3 separate regions of the Homo sapiens genome follow, and all the other regions are linked to region 1. Evidence: promoter capture Hi-C in 16 types of primary human blood cells and fetal thymus (Javierre and others, 2016). All regions are on one chromosome and are shown on one strand. The core of a region is centred on a gene start or on the middle of the fragment in contact, and the rest is flanking DNA. Distances in the headings are between cores, read along the strand shown.

Region 1 (2,974 bases), core at 164-2,663:
TCTATTCATCCCTCTTCTCTCCATCCACACTGGCATTATCCTCATCCAGATCATCATCTCTTATCTGATCTCCTTGATTCTCCAGTCACTCCCCCTGAAATTAATTCTCCATACTGCAGCCAAACTGATTTTTTAAAATGCAGATGTAATCATGTTAATCAGATATTTAAAACCCATCTTTGTACTTGAATTACCTTTAGGATAAATTCAAGAATGCATGATATGACCTGTATAATGATTCATGTTCTCACCATGCTTTTAACCCTAATTTCATTGTTAGACCCTCCCCTTCCATAGTTTTTAAAGTCCAAGGCATACTTCATTTCTCTGTGTTCCTCAAAATGCCCATCTGAAATATTCCTCCTTCTCCTGGCTAGTTCCTTCAGATCACAATGTATTTTTCATTACCTCAGGAAAGCTTTCACTGATGTCCCAAGTCCGACTTTGATCTTAATTATTTTATTTTTGACAGACACTTAACCAGCACTTACAAACCACTTTGTAAATATTAATTCATTAGATGCCTACGATAATAATCATAGGAGACAAATATTATTACCCCATTTTACAGGTGAGGAAACAAAGGTATCTATAACTTGCCCAAGCTTATAGATAGTAAGTCACATAACCAGGATTCTAATATTGATAATTTGGTTCCAGATCCCATATTCCCAAGCACTAAGGTATGCAGCCTCCTAGGTACAAGAAGTCTTTTCTAGGTATTTCTATATTACTTTTTATAAATGCATACATTATGACATACTTCGTTTACTTGTCTGCCAATTTTTCTAGCTTGTGAGCTCTGTAAGAGCAAGAATTATCTCTAACTTATTTGTGCCATGTCCTTCTTTATATTTTTAAAATATAAAAGTGAAAAAAGTAATGATATTACCAACTATAGCTGACAACAAGTATTTACAAGAGTGAAGGAGATAATATATTTGTAATTACTCGAGAAATGACTTAAATAAAAAATTATTTCTTCAGTTCAGAATATTTTAACAGATCCTTTAGTGCCGAGCATTCAAAACAGTGATAATGCAGTGTATGGACTTTTCTGGATTCAAATTCAAACAAACCAACAGCAAAGGACATTTTGGAGAGAACTGGGGAAAACCAAATGCAGTATAAATTACACCAAGGAATTATTGCTCAAGTTGTTGATTGTGAACGTTTTATTACAATTATCTTTTAGAAGGCCTTACCTATTAAAAATACTTAGTGAAGTATTTAAAGGAAAAAAAATGATGTCTGGGATTTGTTTCGAATGTTCCGGATGTATTTATGAATTACTTTTTCAAAGAGGAAAACTTTTTTAATGAAAAAAAAAACATGGAGACACATGGTGGCGCTACAGGATAAGACGAAAACAGTACATAGGCTGGCACGGTGAGCTTCGCTATTCAGGAGAACAGAAAGCATCCAACCCACTGAAAAGACAGGCATTAAAGGAGCTTCGCCTACAGAGCTGCTGGAGGATACACTCTCCAGGGGGTTCCTGTTAAAAACCAGAGCTTCAGCTTCCAAAATTACGGCTGAGCTTCAGTTTTTCCACAAGAGATTGCCTAAAGGAACCATGGAGATCAGAGGGGCACTCGATCTGCGAAAAAGGCAAGTTCTAATATTCCTTGTTTTGCTGGGATTGTCTCGGGCAGGTACTGAATCTGCACACTATTCTGTGGCAGAGGAAACAGAAATTGGCTCTTTTGTGGCTAATCTAGCGAGGGACCTAGGGCTGGGGGTGGAGGAGCTGTCTTCACGTGAAGCCCGGGTAGTGTCTGATGATAATAAAAAGTATTTGCACCTTGATTTGCTGACTGGGAATTTGCTCCTAAATGAGAAACTAGACCGAGACGAGCTGTGTGGCTCCACCGAGCCCTGTGTGCTGCATTTTCAGGTGGTTTTGGAAAACCCTTTACAGTTTTTTCGGTTTGAGCTGTGTGTCAAAGACATAAATGATCACTCCCCTACATTTCTAGACAAGGAAATACTTATTAAAATATCAGAAGGTACCACTGTTGGAGCTACCTTTCTAATGGAGAGTGCTCAAGATTTGGATGTCGGAAGCAACAGTCTCCAAAACTACACAATTAGCCCCAATTCTCACTTCTACATTAAAATTCCCGACAGTAGTGACAGAAAGATATACCCAGAGCTGGTCCTAGATAGAGCTTTAGATTATGAACAGGAAGCTGAACTCAGATTAACACTCACAGCAGTGGATGGTGGATCCCCGCCCAAGTCTGGGACAACTTTGGTTCTCATCAAGGTGTTGGACATCAATGATAATGCCCCTGAGTTTCCTCAGAGTCTCTATGAGGTGCAAGTCCCCGAGGACAGACCCCTTGGCTCCTGGATTGCCACCATCTCAGCTAAGGATCTGGATGCAGGAAACTATGGAAAAATATCTTACACATTTTTCCATGCATCAGAAGATATTCGTAAAACATTTGAAATTAATCCAATATCTGGGGAAGTTAATTTGAGATCACCCCTGGATTTTGAAGTAATACAGTCCTACACTATAAATATTCAGGCAACAGATGGTGGGGGTCTTTCAGGAAAATGCACCCTTCTAGTTAAAGTTATGGATATAAACGACAACCCACCAGAAGTGACCATATCGTCGATTACAAAGAGAATTCCAGAGAATGCCTCAGAGACCCTAGTAGCTCTTTTTAGTATCCTAGACCAAGACTCTGGAGACAATGGGAGGATGATTTGCTCTATTCAAGATAACCTCCCTTTTTTCCTGAAACCGACCTTCAAGAACTTTTTCACTCTAGTTTCTGAAAAAGCACTGGACAGAGAGAGCCAAGCCGAGTACAACATCACGATCACCGTCACAGACTTGGGGACACCCAGGCTGAAAACCGAGTACAACATAACCGTGCTGCTCTCTGACGTCAATGACAACGCCCCCACCTTCACCCAAACCTCCTACACCCTGTTCGTCCGCGAGAACAACAGCCCC
Region 2 (2,974 bases), core at 265-2,764, 110 kb after region 1:
ACAAGTTTATTACCTAGTCATTACAAAAAAGGGTTCAGCAAATTGCAAAGTACCAATAATATACTTGCCTTACAACACATACTTAATCACAAAGCAAACATTTAAAAATAGAAAAGGGAAAAAGTTTGGATATTTACATCTACACCCTTAAATAACTCTTGGATTTCAAAAATCACAATGACAATGAAAACTACTCAGAAAAAAAGGACTTAAATATTCTTTATTAAAAATTGTGAGATGCAACTAAAACTAATTAGGAGTAAGTTTATAGACAAATGCAATAATTTTTTTAAAAGCAAACAAAATTATTTAAAATACATGAATTTAGCTTGCCATTCAAGAAGTAAGATAAAAAACATACAATGAGTATATACTAAAATAAAATGATGGAAAAAATAACAAAGAGTTACATTTTTGAAATGCAACCATGGAAGAGTTCTGAGGATGAAATAATGGAAGCAGACAATAAATGTAATAAAACCAGTGGGGAGAAAATGAAAATTCTGTCAAGTCTAACGTTAGGACTCATGTAAGAGAGCCAGGCACAATGGCACACCTATAATCCCAGGTACTGAGTAGGCTGAGGCAGTAGGATTGCTTGAGCCCAGGAGTTTGAATCCAGCCGGGGCAGTATAACAAGACCCAATCTCTATAAAACAAAAAAACACAAACACAAACACAAAAATAAAAATAAAAAACAAAAGCAAAATATACCATAGTAGCTCTACAAGAAAACATGGTGAGTTGGTATCAATTATTTCCAATATATTTTTCTTCAGTCTTGTAAGAGGAATGGATGAAAGTAAAAATGAGAAAATTTCAATAAGGAAGGAGCCAAAAGGCAAACAGATTAAAGTGTCACCAGAAATGGGCAATTCCACTTATGCCACATACAAAAATTAATTCAAAATGGATCAAAGAAGCAATATTCAGAAGCAATAAAACCCTTTTAGTTATTATGTTTAAGAACTAAAACTATACAACTCTTAGAAGAAAACAGGAGGAAACCTTCATAACATTGATTTTTGGCAATGATTTCTTGGATATGACACCAAAAGCACAAGCAACAAAAGAAAAAAATTGTATACTGGACTTTATCACAGTTAAAAACTATATGCAGCAAAGAACAATATCAATAGAGTGAAAAGGCAGCCCACAGAAAGAGAGAAAATGTTTCCAAATCATGTATCTGAGAATGGATATCCAGAATAAAGAACTCGAACTCAACAACAAAGAATCCCAAACAATTGGATGTTAAAATGAGCAAAGGACTTGAATAGACATTTCTCCAAAGATGATATACAAATGGCCAAAACCATATGAAACAATGTTCAACATCACTAGTCATTAGGGAAATGCAAATCAAAACCATAATGAGATACTACTCCACATTCATTAGAATTGCTGTCATAAAAGAAAAGAAAAGAAATGTTAACAAGAATATGGAGAAATTGGAATTCTTGTGCATTGCTGGTGAATATAAAATGACACAACTGCTGTGGAAAATGGTATGGTGACTCCTCAAAAATTTAAACATAGAATTACCATATAATCCAGCAATTCCACTCTGGTTATTACCCAAAAGAAGTGAAAATAGGGACTTCAACAGATATTTGTACACCTATGTTTATGGCATCATTAGTCACAATAGTTGAAAAGTGGAAGTAACCCAAGTGTCCATTGACAGATGAATGGGTAAATAAAAAGTGGTTCACACATACAATGGGCTGTTATTTAGCCTTAAAAAGGAAGGGAATTCTGTTACATGCTACAATATGGACGAACTTCAAAGACATGATATCAAGTGAAATAAACCTGTTATAAAATGACAAATACTGTATGATTCCTCATATATGAAGTTCCTAGATTAGTCAAATTCATAGAGAAAAAAGGTAGAATGGTAGTTGCCAGGGACTGGGTGAAAGGCAATGGGGAGTTGCTATTTAATAAGTACAGAGTTTCAGTTGGGGAGGATGAAAAAGTTCTGGAAGTGGATGGTGGTAATGGTCACACCAGAATGTAATTTGAATGTACTTAATGTCACAGAATTGTATGCTTGACTATGGTCAAAATGGTAAAGATGAAACAAGAGTAAGAAGACATCCACTGCATTGTATTTTACACCCTTGGAAAATGAATATCAGAAAAAGAACTTGACAACCTCAAACAATTTTGAGTGACTGATTCCTAGTGTGGTGAAAAACCCCTTCCGGCTCTAGCTTTATCAAATAGACCTGCTTTCTGTTTCTGTAATGTTCCATGCTGTCTCTTACCTTCAAGCATTTGTTCAGAGGTTCTAGAACACTTCTTCAGCCTTTTTCTTGATTCAATCCTACTTTTTATGATTCAGCTTCAATCATGCCCTCAAAAAGACTTTTCTGACCCCAAATCTAGACTGGATACCCCTCCTAGGTATTCCTCCATCACCCAGTGTTTCCTACCTCATATCACAGCAGTTACCATACTCTATTATACTCTCTTTACTTTCTTATGTCCTCCTCCAACCTTCACGCTTGAGACCAGGGCCTGTGTTTATCATGTTCACCATTTCTAGCTCCAGCTGCAATCATGCAAAGTGGGAGGCACATGTACCCAATTAAGTGTCTGATGATTCAATAATTTAAAGGCAGATTTTGAAGGTAAATGCAAAGCCATCAACCATAAACGTTCAAAATATATAACCTTAGAAGAAAACGTAGCTAACGTTTCTTAATTGATCTTACTGCTTCTGATTATACAATAAGAGATGGAAGATGTTTGGAGCAAGGGCAGTGGTGGCATTGATTAATGCCTTGAGCAGTCAATAATACTTTCCTAGCAACTATTATCAAGATCATGTTCATTTATACCATTCTTATTAATCCTGATAAAAAGATTCCTGTTTTGAAAGATCTAATTCTAGGGTATCTTAGAGCTGTAAGATTCTTTAAAGCGCCTTGAAAGTCAACAAAGGCAAACAAACAAGAAGTAACTT
Region 3 (2,974 bases), core at 210-2,709, 91 kb after region 1:
ATTTAGCTGCTCATTTATGAAGGAGAGAAAAGAGAGACATCTAACCTTTCCCCTTTTGCTCTTCTATAAGGAGATACAATATAGAAACTGCATATGGCAACAGAAAGAACAGGATTTTTAAAAATGAATATGCTACATTAACCATTTGCCTGCTATTAATGGGAGTCAATGTACTAGCTACTATAAGAAAAAGAAACTGAAGCACAGATGTTAGAGAAATTTGAGGAATTAGAAGTACTAGAAAATGGCTGAACTGCGACACTGCCCCTGCAGTGGGCTTATTCTGGTGAGCATTTTTTTTTTTTCCCGAGACAGGGTCTCGCTCTGTTGCCCAGGCTGGAGTGCAATGGCCAGATCTTGGCTCATTGCAACCTCTGCCTCCCAGGTTTAAGCTATTCTTCCGCCTCAGCCTCCTGAGTAGCTGAGATTACAGGCACCCACCACAATGCCCAGCTAATTTTTTGTATTTTTAGTAGAGACAGGGTTTCACCATGTTGGCCAGGCTGGTCTTAAACTCCTGGCCTCAAGTGATCTGCCTGCCTCGACCTCCCAAAGTGCTGGGATTACAGGAGTGAGCCACTGCGCCCAGCCCTGCTGAGCATTCTTCATAAAATGTACCTGAAATGAGACAAGTCTTTCTCATGAGTAACAACCAAGGACTTCAGAATAGTGCTCTCTCAGGACATTGTCTCTTAAGGTAGAACACAATTCATGTGAAGCTTACAGAATGGGGTCATATGTTTCAATAGCAACAGTAATTAGGAAGAGATACATGATGAGAAAAGCCAAGGCCTTATACATTTTGAAAAACTGTACAAAACCCATGCTGATATTGAAAATACCTGCAGATGTTGAAAAACCAGATAGTGAAATTCTAGTTATGAGTGACAATTCATGGGTATTCTTTTGTTTTTTGATTTTTTTGTTCTTGTTGTTGTTTTTTATTGAGATGGAGTCTCGCTCCGTCACCCAGGCTGGAGCGTGGTGGCACAATCTCGGCTCACTGCAATATCCACCTCCCAGGTTCAAGCAATTCTCCTGTCTCAGCCTCCTAAGTAGCTGAGACTACAGGTGCTTGCCATCACAGCCGGCTAATTTTTGTATTTTTAGTAGAGATGGGGTTTCACCTTGTTGGTCAGGCTGGTCTTGAACTCCTGACCTCAGGCGATCCATCTGTCTTGGCCTCCCAAATTGCTGGGATTACAGGCGTAAGCCACCATGCCCAGCCGGGTGTTCTTTTACAAGTAGAAAGACATCTATTAAAATTAGTGTAAGACTATTGCCTGACATGAGTTTCCAGTTAAGGGGTACCTGAAACTTCAACATGAGAATATGTTGTCTGCAAACTAGAATTTGAAAAGCAATGCTTATTTTTCCCTAGATATTAAAATTAGAACAAAAAAAGACACCACCATGTAGCTGATCTTACAGAATGATTTAGAAAAGAAAGAGGAAGTCTTTCATCATCTCATTATGACCACCAGAGGTGAAACAGTGAGAGGAACTCACATACCCATAACTAAAGATAAATGTAAATGACAGTGTCCCAGTATGCCCCAGTTCCATTAAACAAAGTTATTTGGAGGAAAATATCACATTGGAAACCATACTCCATAACACCAAGGCCAGGGATCAGTACAAGAACATTAATACCTTCAATGAATTGTCAGGCATAATAACACAAGTAACAGAGGCAGATTCCCTGAGGTCAAATTCTATGAAATACATTTGACCATACAGTTGGACTTGGAGAAAACAGAGCCAAGCATATACAGTAACATTGCCCAAGATAATAGGCAATCTTAAGCAATTAAAACCATTTCCCTGATTCCAACTAACCAGAATGATGCTGCTTCTGTTTTTAAGCACATATCCTCCAGAACACATATATTAGAAAATAGTAGCAAAGAACCTTCCAACTTTTTAATGAAGACCACTGCACTTGACATAGCACCTGACATGATGAAACATCTAAATCACATGCTTCTTAAGAATTAGATTGAATGGCCAGATAGGGTTACCAGAGAAAATAAGGGTTGAGTTGGGCCTTCAGTGACAAAAAGCTATCCATGAGAATATCTGGTGACTATTCCAAGAAAAGAGAACTGTAAGTGCTAAACTGTAGGAGGAAAGAGCTGAGTAAATTTGTTTATGCTGCAGATAAATTTGAAGCAAACCGTTTCTGCTGTAACCTAATTTATAAGCTTTCATTTAGAATTTTTTTTCCCATCTGAATTTGGTTGAAACTGATCTCTAAAATTTCTTAAATTTGAAAACAATTACATTTAGAATAGTTGTTTCCCTATAAACACTTTTTCTAACATTTCAGTCACTCTTTAATTATTTAGTATCTGTTATGGTCCATACCTTAATGGGTTGTAATAGTGGTAAATTTACTTCTGTTGTTTACTTACTATGTTCCAGGCATTGTTCTAAATAAGTCATTTATATGATTCAGCAGCCAGCAGCCAACAGCCCAATAACCCTATGAGGTAGGTAGTATTATTGCCTCCACTTTGGAGATGAGAAAATTGAGGTAAACAGATTGCTACCTGTGCAAGGTCACACAACTAATAGGTAACTGAGCTAGGATACGAACCATGCATGACATGTCTTGATGTTAAGATTTTGATCTTTCTACTATTCTTCAGTAAGTTTACAGTCACTAATGTAGCAAAATATCTCAGTAAATTTAAAGCCAAGCAGGAGATACGAACAAAGGTAATTTACACTTTAGTTATAACAGATACTCATCCCAGTAGACCGTGCAGTGCATGAGTTTATAGACACTAAATGCTTTGTTCATCACTGCATATCCAGTAGCTTGTAGTTTGGTGCGCGCGCACACACACACACACACACACACACACCCCTTGTAGTTTGGCACACACACACACAAAATGTTTGTCAAATAAATGAGAGAGGGAAGAACAAAGTGCAAAGCCGTAATAGGGTTGCTTAACCTAGAGGGAGA

The links. The method cuts DNA at HindIII sites, captures the fragments that hold promoters and counts their contacts. A CHiCAGO score of 5 or more calls a contact.
Region 2: a contact is called between a fragment that was not itself captured here and the fragment with the promoter of PCDHB14 in region 1, in 2 of 17 cell types (M1 macrophages and monocytes). The highest score is 6.2, in M1 macrophages.
Region 3: a contact is called between a fragment that was not itself captured here and the fragment with the promoter of PCDHB14 in region 1, in 1 of 17 cell types (M1 macrophages). The highest score is 5.8, in M1 macrophages.

The regions. Positions count from the first base shown.
Region 1 is chr5:141,221,930-141,224,903 of GRCh38, forward strand. PCDHB14 (protocadherin beta 14) reads left to right here and starts at 1,414. Exons shown (of 1, transcript NM_018934.4): 1 at 1,414-2,974. The coding sequence starts at 1,577. It also overlaps PCDHB@. The HindIII fragment of the contact is 16,360 bases long and covers 604-2,974 here.
Region 2 is chr5:141,335,700-141,338,673 of GRCh38, forward strand. The region is part of intron 1 of PCDHGA1 (protocadherin gamma subfamily A, 1); the gene reads left to right. It also overlaps PCDHG@. Among named protein-coding and RNA genes, the nearest start is that of PCDHGA2, 1.6 kb to the right of the region's middle. The HindIII fragment of the contact is 3,193 bases long and covers 1-2,974 here.
Region 3 is chr5:141,312,430-141,315,403 of GRCh38, forward strand. No RefSeq gene overlaps it. Among named protein-coding and RNA genes, the nearest start is that of TAF7, 6.9 kb to the right of the region's middle. The HindIII fragment of the contact is 1,485 bases long and covers 718-2,202 here.